Regions from separate parts of the Homo sapiens genome. Here all the other regions are linked to region 3. Evidence: promoter capture Hi-C in 16 types of primary human blood cells and fetal thymus (Javierre and others, 2016). All regions are on one chromosome and are shown on one strand. Each heading gives the region's core, a stretch centred on a gene start or on the middle of the fragment in contact. The rest is flanking DNA. Distances are from core to core; before and after follow the strand shown. Region 1 has its middle 44 kb from the start of PPM1K. Region 2 has its middle 61 kb from the start of ABCG2. Region 3 holds the start of HERC5 (HECT and RLD domain containing E3 ubiquitin protein ligase 5).

The links. The method cuts DNA at HindIII sites, captures the fragments that hold promoters and counts their contacts. A CHiCAGO score of 5 or more calls a contact.
Region 1: a contact is called between a fragment that was not itself captured here and the fragment with the promoter of HERC5 in region 3, in 2 of 17 cell types (total CD8 T cells and total B cells). The highest score is 6.4, in total CD8 T cells.
Region 2: a fragment that was not itself captured here is called in contact with the fragment with the promoter of HERC5 in region 3 in 16 of 17 cell types (megakaryocytes, naive CD4 T cells, M2 macrophages and 13 more); the score reaches 12.8 in megakaryocytes.

What each region holds. Positions count from the first base shown.
Region 1 is chr4:88,238,944-88,241,733 of GRCh38, reverse strand. No RefSeq gene overlaps it. Among named protein-coding and RNA genes, the nearest start is that of PPM1K, 44 kb to the left of the region's middle. The HindIII fragment of the contact is 4,762 bases long and covers 1-2,790 here.
Region 2 is chr4:88,218,690-88,221,427 of GRCh38, reverse strand. It overlaps a transcript of ABCG2 not described here. Among named protein-coding and RNA genes, the nearest start is that of ABCG2, 61 kb to the right of the region's middle. The HindIII fragment of the contact is 1,573 bases long and covers 519-2,091 here.
Region 3 is chr4:88,455,826-88,458,525 of GRCh38, reverse strand. HERC5 (HECT and RLD domain containing E3 ubiquitin protein ligase 5) reads right to left here and starts at 1,407. Exons shown (of 23, transcript NM_016323.4): 1 at 992-1,407. The coding sequence starts at 1,256. All of the region lies in intron 1 of LOC102723458 (a long non-coding RNA gene), which reads left to right. RefSeq lists an enhancer at 1,348-1,777. The HindIII fragment of the contact is 3,677 bases long and covers 1-2,700 here.

The DNA of each region.
Region 1 (2,790 bases), core at 216-2,715, 220 kb after region 3:
ACAGAAATGGCAGAAATTTCATACCAAGGTTTGTCTAAACTTGGTTTCTACCTGGAATAAAGAATAATCTGCCAGGTATAGTGGGGCATGCCTGTAATCCCAGCTACTAGGGAAGCTGAGGTGGGAGGATTGCTTGAGGCTAGGAGTTTGAGACCAGCCTGAGCAACATAGCAAAACCCCATTTCTGGGGGGAAAAAGAATAATCTCACACATATTTCAAATGTATGTAGATTTATGTTGTGTGATTAAAATATGTTTATTTTAAAGAGTTATCTATGTTGTTATTGGCATTTTGTACTTTCTCTTCCGGGATACTTAAAGTGCAAATACTACCATGAGGAAAGAGGGAGTCTTACCAAATGAAAAAATGATCCTCATATTTACAAAACCCTGGCCAGGTGCATTGGCTCATGCCTGTAATATCAGCACTTTGGGAAGCTGAGGTGGAAAGATTGCTTTAGCCCAGGAGTTTGGGACCAGCCTGGCCAACATGAGACCCCATCTGTATAAAAAATGTCAAACATTTAAAAAACTAGCCAGGCATGGTGGTGCAAACCTGTGGTCCCTGCTACTTGGGAGGCTGAGGTGTGCTTGAGCTCCGGAGGTTGAAGCTGCAGTGAGCTGTGATAATGCCACAGCACTTTAGCATGGACAACAGAGTGAAACCCCATTTTTTAAAAAACAAAAAAAAAAATCAGAGAGAGAGGGCAGAGCAATATGGGTGAATAGAAGGCTCCACTGATTGTCCCCAGAGAGGAACACCAAATTTAATAACTATCTATACATAAAAAGCATCTTTCTTCAGGCAAGGCAGTCATGAAAGAAATAATATAAAATAAAGCACCTTCCTAAGAATGAAAAATCAGGTGAGCACTCACAGTGCCTGGTTTTAACTTCATATTGCTGACAGAGGCACTGAAGAGGGCAAGAAAGACAGTCTTGAATTGCTGATGGCACCCCACCCCTATCCTCTGGCGATGGCCGTAGGTGCAGAGAGAGAATCTGTGCACTTGGGAGAGGGACAGTGCAGTGATTGTGAGAGGCATTGAACTCAAAGCTGCCCTGTCACAACAGAAAGCAAAACTGGGCTGAACTCAAATGATGCCTGCCCATTGAGGGAGCACTGAGACTAGCCCTAGCCAGAGGGGAATGGCCCATCCCAACAGTCAGAACTTGAGTTCCAGCAAGTCTCATCATTATGACCTAAAATGCTCTGGGGCCCTAAATAAACTTGAAAGGCAGTTTAGGCAATAAGGACTGCAACTCCTACACAAGTCTTAGTGCTGAGTTGGGCGTGTAGCCAGTGGACATGAGGGACATGTGACCTACTGAGACACCAGCCAGGGCAACTACAGGAGTGCTTGCACTACCCCTCCCAAAACACCAGGCAGCACAGCCCTCAGCTGCAAAGGAGAAGCCTTACTTCTGCTTGAGGAGAGGAGAGGAAAGAGTAAAGAGGAATTTGTCTTGCAACTTGGATACCAACTCAGCCGCAGTAGGATAGGGCACTAGTCAGGGTCATTAGGCCCCCATTCCAGGCCCTAGTTCCCAGACAGTATTTCTAGACATACCTTAGGCCAGAAGGGAATCCACTGCCTTGAAAGGAAGGACCTATCCTGGGAGGAATCATCACCTGCTGATTAAAGAGACCTTGGGCCCTGAATAATCAGCAGCAGCACCCAGGCAGTACTTGCCATGGGCCTTGGGTAAGACTCAGAGATATGCTGGCTTTAGATGTGAACCAGCACAGTCCCAGCTATGGTGGCTATGGTGAGAGACTCCTTTTGCTTGAAAAAAGCTGAGGGAAAAGTAAAGAGGACTTGATCTTGCACCTTAGGTACCAGCTCAGCAACAGTGGGGTAGAGTAACAAGTGGGCTCTTGGGGCCCCTAATTAGAGGCCTTGGCTCTTAGATGGAATTTCTAAGCCTTCCCTGGGCCAGAAGGTGGACCATTTCCCTGAAGAGTGAGTCCCAGACCTGGCAGCCTTCAGCATAAGCTGACTGAAGAGCCCTTGGGCCTTAGTGAACCTCGGTGGTAGCCCGGCAGCACTCCCCTTGGGCCTGTGGAGGTGATGGCCATGGGTGAGTTTCCTCTGCCTGTAGAAAGGTGAGGAAAGCGTAGAAATAACTGTGTCACATAACTTGTGTGCTAGCTCAGCTGTGGTAGAATAGAGCACCAGGTAGATTACTAAGATTTTTGACTCTAGTCCCTAGTTCATGGATGGCATCTCTGGAAAAGAATAGGGTCTAGGGGAACTTGCTGCCCTGAAGAGAAGGACACAAATCTCGCTGGCTTTACCACCTGCTGATTGCAGAGCCCTAGGGCCTCGAGTGAACATAGGCAGTAGCCAGGTACTGGTTACAACAGGCCTTGGGTGAGACTCAGTGCTGTGCCAGCTTCAGGTCTGTCCCAACTCAGTCCCAGTGGTGGTGGCCACAGGGGTGCTTGTGTCACCCCACCCCCAGCTCCAGACAGCTCATCACAGAAAGACAGACTCCATTTGCTTGGAAGAAAGTAAGGAAAGAAACAAGAATCTGCCTGGTAATCCAGAGAATTATTCCAAATATTATTCAAGATTATCAAGGCAGTACCTCTATGAGTCTGGAAGAACCATAGTGTTACTGGGCTTGAGATGCCCCCTAATGTAGATATGTCTTAGATCTCAACACCCAAGTCTTTTTAAATGCCTGGAAAGAGTGCAGAGACTACCATAGATATCTGACTCTTCAATGCCCAAACGCCAATGAACATCCACAAGCATCAAGACCTTCCAGGAAAACATGACCTCA
Region 2 (2,738 bases), core at 56-2,555, 240 kb after region 3:
TGTTACCCAGTTCCAAAGTCGTTTCTACATTTTTGGGTATCCTTATAGCAGCAACCCACTCTCTGCGGTACCAATTTACTGTATTAGTCCGTTCTCATGCTGCTATGAAAAAATACCCGAGACTGAGTAGTTTATTTTTATTTTATTTATGTATTTATTTTGAGACACAGTTTCATTCTTGCCTAGGCCGGAGTGCAGTGGCATGATCTCAGCTCACTACAACCTCTGCCTCCCAGGTTCAAGCGATTCTTGTACCTCAGCCTCCCTAGTAGCTGGGATTACAGGTCCACACTAACACACCTGTCTAATTTTTGTATTATTAGTAGAGATGGAGTTTCACCATGTTGGCCAATCTGATCTTGAACTCCTGACCTCAAGTGATCCGCCCACCTTGGCCTCCCAAAGTGCTTGGATTACAGGCTTGAGCCACTGTACCCAGCCAGAGACTGGGTAATTTATAAACGGAAGAGGTTTAATGGACTCACAGTTCTACAGGGCTGGAGAAGCCTCAGGAAGCTTACAATCATGGCAGAAGGGGAAGCAAACATGTCCTTCTTCACATGGTATCAGGAAGGAGAAGTGCTGAGCAAAGAGGGGTGGGAAAGTGCCTTATAAAACCATCAGATCTCATGAGAACTTACCATCACAAGAACAGCATGAGGGTAACCACCCGCATGATTCAATTACCTCCCACCAGGTCCTTCCCATGACACATGGGGATTATGGAAACTACAATTCAAGATGAGATTTGGGTAGGGACATAGCCAAACCATATCACTGGTCTACCGTTCTCTGTCAGTCTACAGGAGGCAAAGCAAGGCTGACAGAAGGATGCTCCTTCAGGAGGAAGCAGCAGTAAAAGCACTTTGAATCAAGATAAATGGGAAGCCACCCCAATAAACACATTTTAGATATTTTAGAAAAAGAAAGAAATACACACACAAATTGAAAATAACAATTGTTGGCAAGAATGTGGAGAGATTGGAACTCTTGTGCACTGTTGGTGGAATGTAAAATGGTGTAGCTACTGTGGAGAACAGTATGGTGCTTCCTCAAAAAACTAACCATAGAATTACCATACAATCCCACAATTCCACTTCTAGATATATACCCAAAAGAACTGAAAGCAGAGGCTCAGACAGATGTTTATACACAGCAGCATTATTTACAACAGCCAAAAGTGGAAGCAACCCTAATGTTCATCAACTGTTGAATGAATAAACAAAATGTGGTATACACAGAGAATGGAGGATTATGCAGCCTCAAAAGGGATGAAAATTCTGACTGCAGCATGAATGAACCTTGAAGACATTATGCTAAGAGAAATAAGGACAAATACTACATGATTCCACTTATATTAGGTAGTGAGGGTAGTCAAATTCATAGAGACAGAAAGTAGAATGGTTGCCACTGAGGACAGGGTGGAGTGAAGAGTTGTTTAATGGGCAAGAAGTTTCAGTTTGGAAGATGAAAGAAGTTCTAGAGATGGATGGTAGTGATGGTTGCACAGCAATGAATATACTTAATGCCATAAAACAGTACACTTAAAAACTATTTGAGCCTGTAATCCCAGCACTTTGGGAGGCCGAGGCGGGTGGATCACGAGGTCAGGAGATCGAGACCATCCTGGCTAACATGGTGAAACCCCATCTCTACTAAAAATACAAAAAAAAAAAAAAATAGCCAGGCGTGGCACTGTGCGCCTGTAGTCCCAGCTGCTGGGGAGGCTGAGACAGGAGAATGGCGTGAACCTGGGAGGCGGAGCTTGCAGTGAGCGGAGATCGCGCCATTGCACTCCAGCCTGGGTGACAGAGCAAGACTCGGTCTCAAAAAAAAAAAAAAAAAAAAAAATTTGAATGGTACATTTTTATATTATGAATATTTTACCACAGTAGAAGAAAATAAAACAACTCTACCCTCAGGTATTTGCATGTCTGCCTCCTACTTATTCTTCACTTTTCTGCTGAAATAGCATGTCCTCAGGGAAGCCTCTCCTATTGCTCTATGTAATTTCCTTGTAGAACATATCACTGTCTGAAATTACCTTTTTTATACGTGCTATCATCTGTCTTCTCCATTGGAATATAAGCTTTTCGAGCATAAGATCTTTGCTTTATTCAAAGCTGTATCCTAACACTTCGTTTTTGTCACATGGTAGCTATTCAGTGAATACTTGCGGAACAGTGTACTGAGAAAAAAGAAAGGGCTCCACCTGGAGGTTGTGTTAGTAAATGTACTTTGTGGGAATTTTAAATGTACAATACTCAAAAGTAAAAATCAAACTGAACATTTAACTTCAAAGCAGTATTAGCCGTGATAGTGGAGTGAGAAGTCATGAAGAAAAGTGTACAAGCACCTCTGTGTAAAATATTTCCCTTTTCACATCAACTCCCTGCTTAGGTTCCCAATTCCCAGGACCTCAGCAGTTCCCGTATTTCCTTTCTATGTATCGCCTGTTCATTTACCTACCGTCAATGGCTGCTTTGGTGCTACAATGCCAATATAGAGTGATTGGAAAAAGACTGCATGGCCCACAAGCCTAAAATATTCACTATCTGGCCTTTTACAGAAAAAGTTTACCAACCAACCAATGATGTAGGTAAAGATAATAGACTAGAGATATTGTCTACTCTTCTCTGAGAACTTTCATGATAGTCATTCAAGTCAATCAAGAAATGTTTATTGGGATTGGAGACTATTATTCTAAGTAACTCAGGAATGGAAAACTGAACATTGCA
Region 3 (2,700 bases), core at 158-2,657:
AAGGAAGTATTAAGAAATGGTATTGGGACATAGGCTAAGCCTTTGGAAAAGCAAATAAATCTAGCTCCCCTCCTACCTCAGTACTGAAAATTCCAAGCGTACGAAAAATTTTAACTTAAAAAAAAAAACCTTAAAATTACTACAAAAATGAGTACATTTTTTAAAACACTGGGAGTGTGGATAGCTTTCCAGCCTAACATAAAACCCATAAGCCTTAACAGACAAAAAAATTGACAGACTACCCCCCAAAAAATGCACTAAAAACAACATGCACAAAAGGCAAAGTGAGAAAAATATTACATGTACGACGTGCAAAAGGCTATTCTTATTCAATATTCAAATACCTCTTCCATACAAATAAGAAAAAGATTTAACAACTCAAATTTCTAAAAGCCAGGCAAAGATAAACAGGCAATTTACCGAAAAAGGAACGCAAACGTCCAGTAGTTAAACGCAAAATAAACTCGCAGCAAGATACCAATTTCTTCACTCCACAGATGGGCAAAATTTTAAAGAACGCGGGCAACTATTTCCCCCACTTCGATGAGAATGTGGGAGAAGTGCAACTGAAGGCCAAGGTAAAATCCCATCACTGAGAACGACTCCCAAAGTTGGAGCAGTGACTACTTTCTCAAAACGAGACAGTGGGAGATGCGGCGGGCGGGGGACGGGGGTACAAACTTGAACAGAAACCTATGAGAAAGCCAGACTGGCTAAAAGGATGAAGACGGTGCCCGCATGCCCCGCACCGGCCACTTTGCTGAGCGGAGGATCCGCTGGTCGCCAGTATCCCGCTCACCCCGCGCCTGACACTGACCGGGATAAAAGACAGCTCAGGTGCGCCGTCGGCGAAACTATCCGAGCCAGGCGCGCGTCTGCGGCCTTCTGGGCTCTCCTCCCTCAGGCGCGGACCCCCGGCTGCCCGCCCCTCACAGCCCTCAGCCCTCACCCCTCACAGCCCTCACAGCCCTCACACACCAGCCCCACTCACTCGGCGTCCGGGCGCCGCCGCTCCCGGCGAGCAGCTGGTGAACCTGGACGCCCGCCCCGCCGCGTTCCAAGACCGCGAGGCGCCCCGGCGAGCAGCAGAGTTGGCGCGTCACCTCCACCCTCCGGAGCAGCGCGCGGTGGAGGCCCGCGGCGCTGGGAAAGAGCCAGAGCTGTGCGCCCGGAGACTTCGCGGGCTGGGTCGCGGCGGCCTTGCCCGCGGTCGAGCGCCCGTTGCGCCGCGACTTCCTCCGCGACCTCCGCTCCATCGCCGCTTTGCGGGGTCCCAGGCCCAGAGGCGAGAGGAGAGAACGCCTGGTCCCGGGACTGAGCGCGCCCACTGCCTCAGGCGTTGCGCTGCAGAGCGGGAACCAGCTGCGCGCAGCTGCGTGGCGTCGGGGAACCGCAGCCTCAGCTACTGAGCCCCTGCCGGGACGCCACGCCCCCCACGTGCTGTTTGGGGGCGGGGCCTGCAGCTCCAGTGGAAAACGAAACATAATGTTTGTTGTTGTTTTTAGGGGGCGGAATCGAAAAGGAAAAGGAAACTGTAATGAGAGTGACTTGGCAGGCGGCCAAAGGCAACAGGTCGTTGGCTGGGGTAAAGGCCGATGGGCTGGACTGAGAAAGTGTCCCCGGGCGGGCAGCGGCCACCTTAACTCCTGGACGGAATGGCTTTCGAGGAAACGCTGCAGTTCCACTAGGAGGCACCCTGACACACGCATTTCCAGAGGGAGGGATAACGGAAGCCAAAGTTTGTTAAGCGTTGTGCGCCGCGGCCGGGCGCGGTGATTCACGCCTGTAATCCCAGCACTTTGGGGGGCCGAGGCGGGCGGATCACGACGTCAGGAGATCGAGACCATTCTGGCTAACACGGTGAAACCCCGTCTCTACTAAAAATACAAAAACAAAATTAGCTGGGCGTGGTGGCGGGCGCCTGTAGTCCCAGCTACTCGGGAGGCTGAGGTGGGAGAATGGCGGGAACCCGGGAGGCGGAGTTTGCAGTGAGCCGAGATTGCGCCACTGCACTCCAGCCTGGGCGACAGAGCGAGACTATGTATCAAAAAAAAAAATGCGTTGTGCGCCGGGCTGAAACCGGCATAAAACTGGGCAGAGCTATGCAGGCAGCTACCCTCCCCCCCACCCCTACCCCCACCCCCACCCCCCTCGTGCCCGCTCCGCTACGTATTCCCGTATTCCCGGGTGCCTGGCAACAGTGATGTGCTTTAGGCCTTTTTTAGAATGCATACAAACGGAACCATATCTAAGTGATGTCTGGCTTTTTTAACTTAGCACAATGCTTTGAGATTCATACTATTGTGTTTAATTAGTAATTCATTTGTGTTATTGTTGAATGGTAGTCTATCATATGGGTAAGCCACAGTTTATTTATCCATTCACCAATTGATGGGCCTGTCGGTTGTAGGGAACAGGAGAAAACTTCCCCTTTGCCCTCTGAAGGGTCACCGAAAATCAACTGACAAGGCTGGGCCTGGGCTCCTGCCTGTAACCCCAGCCCTTTTTTAGCCCAAGGCAGGAGGATCTCTTCTTTGTGAAGTGTGTATTCAAATCTTTTGACCATTTATTTATTAGCTAGCTTGACTTTTTATCTAAGAGTTCTTTATATATTATTGAGTTCTTTATATGTTTCATACCATGTTCTTTATTAGCTATACGTTTTGAAATGTTTTCTACCTGTCTGTGGCTTGCCTCTTC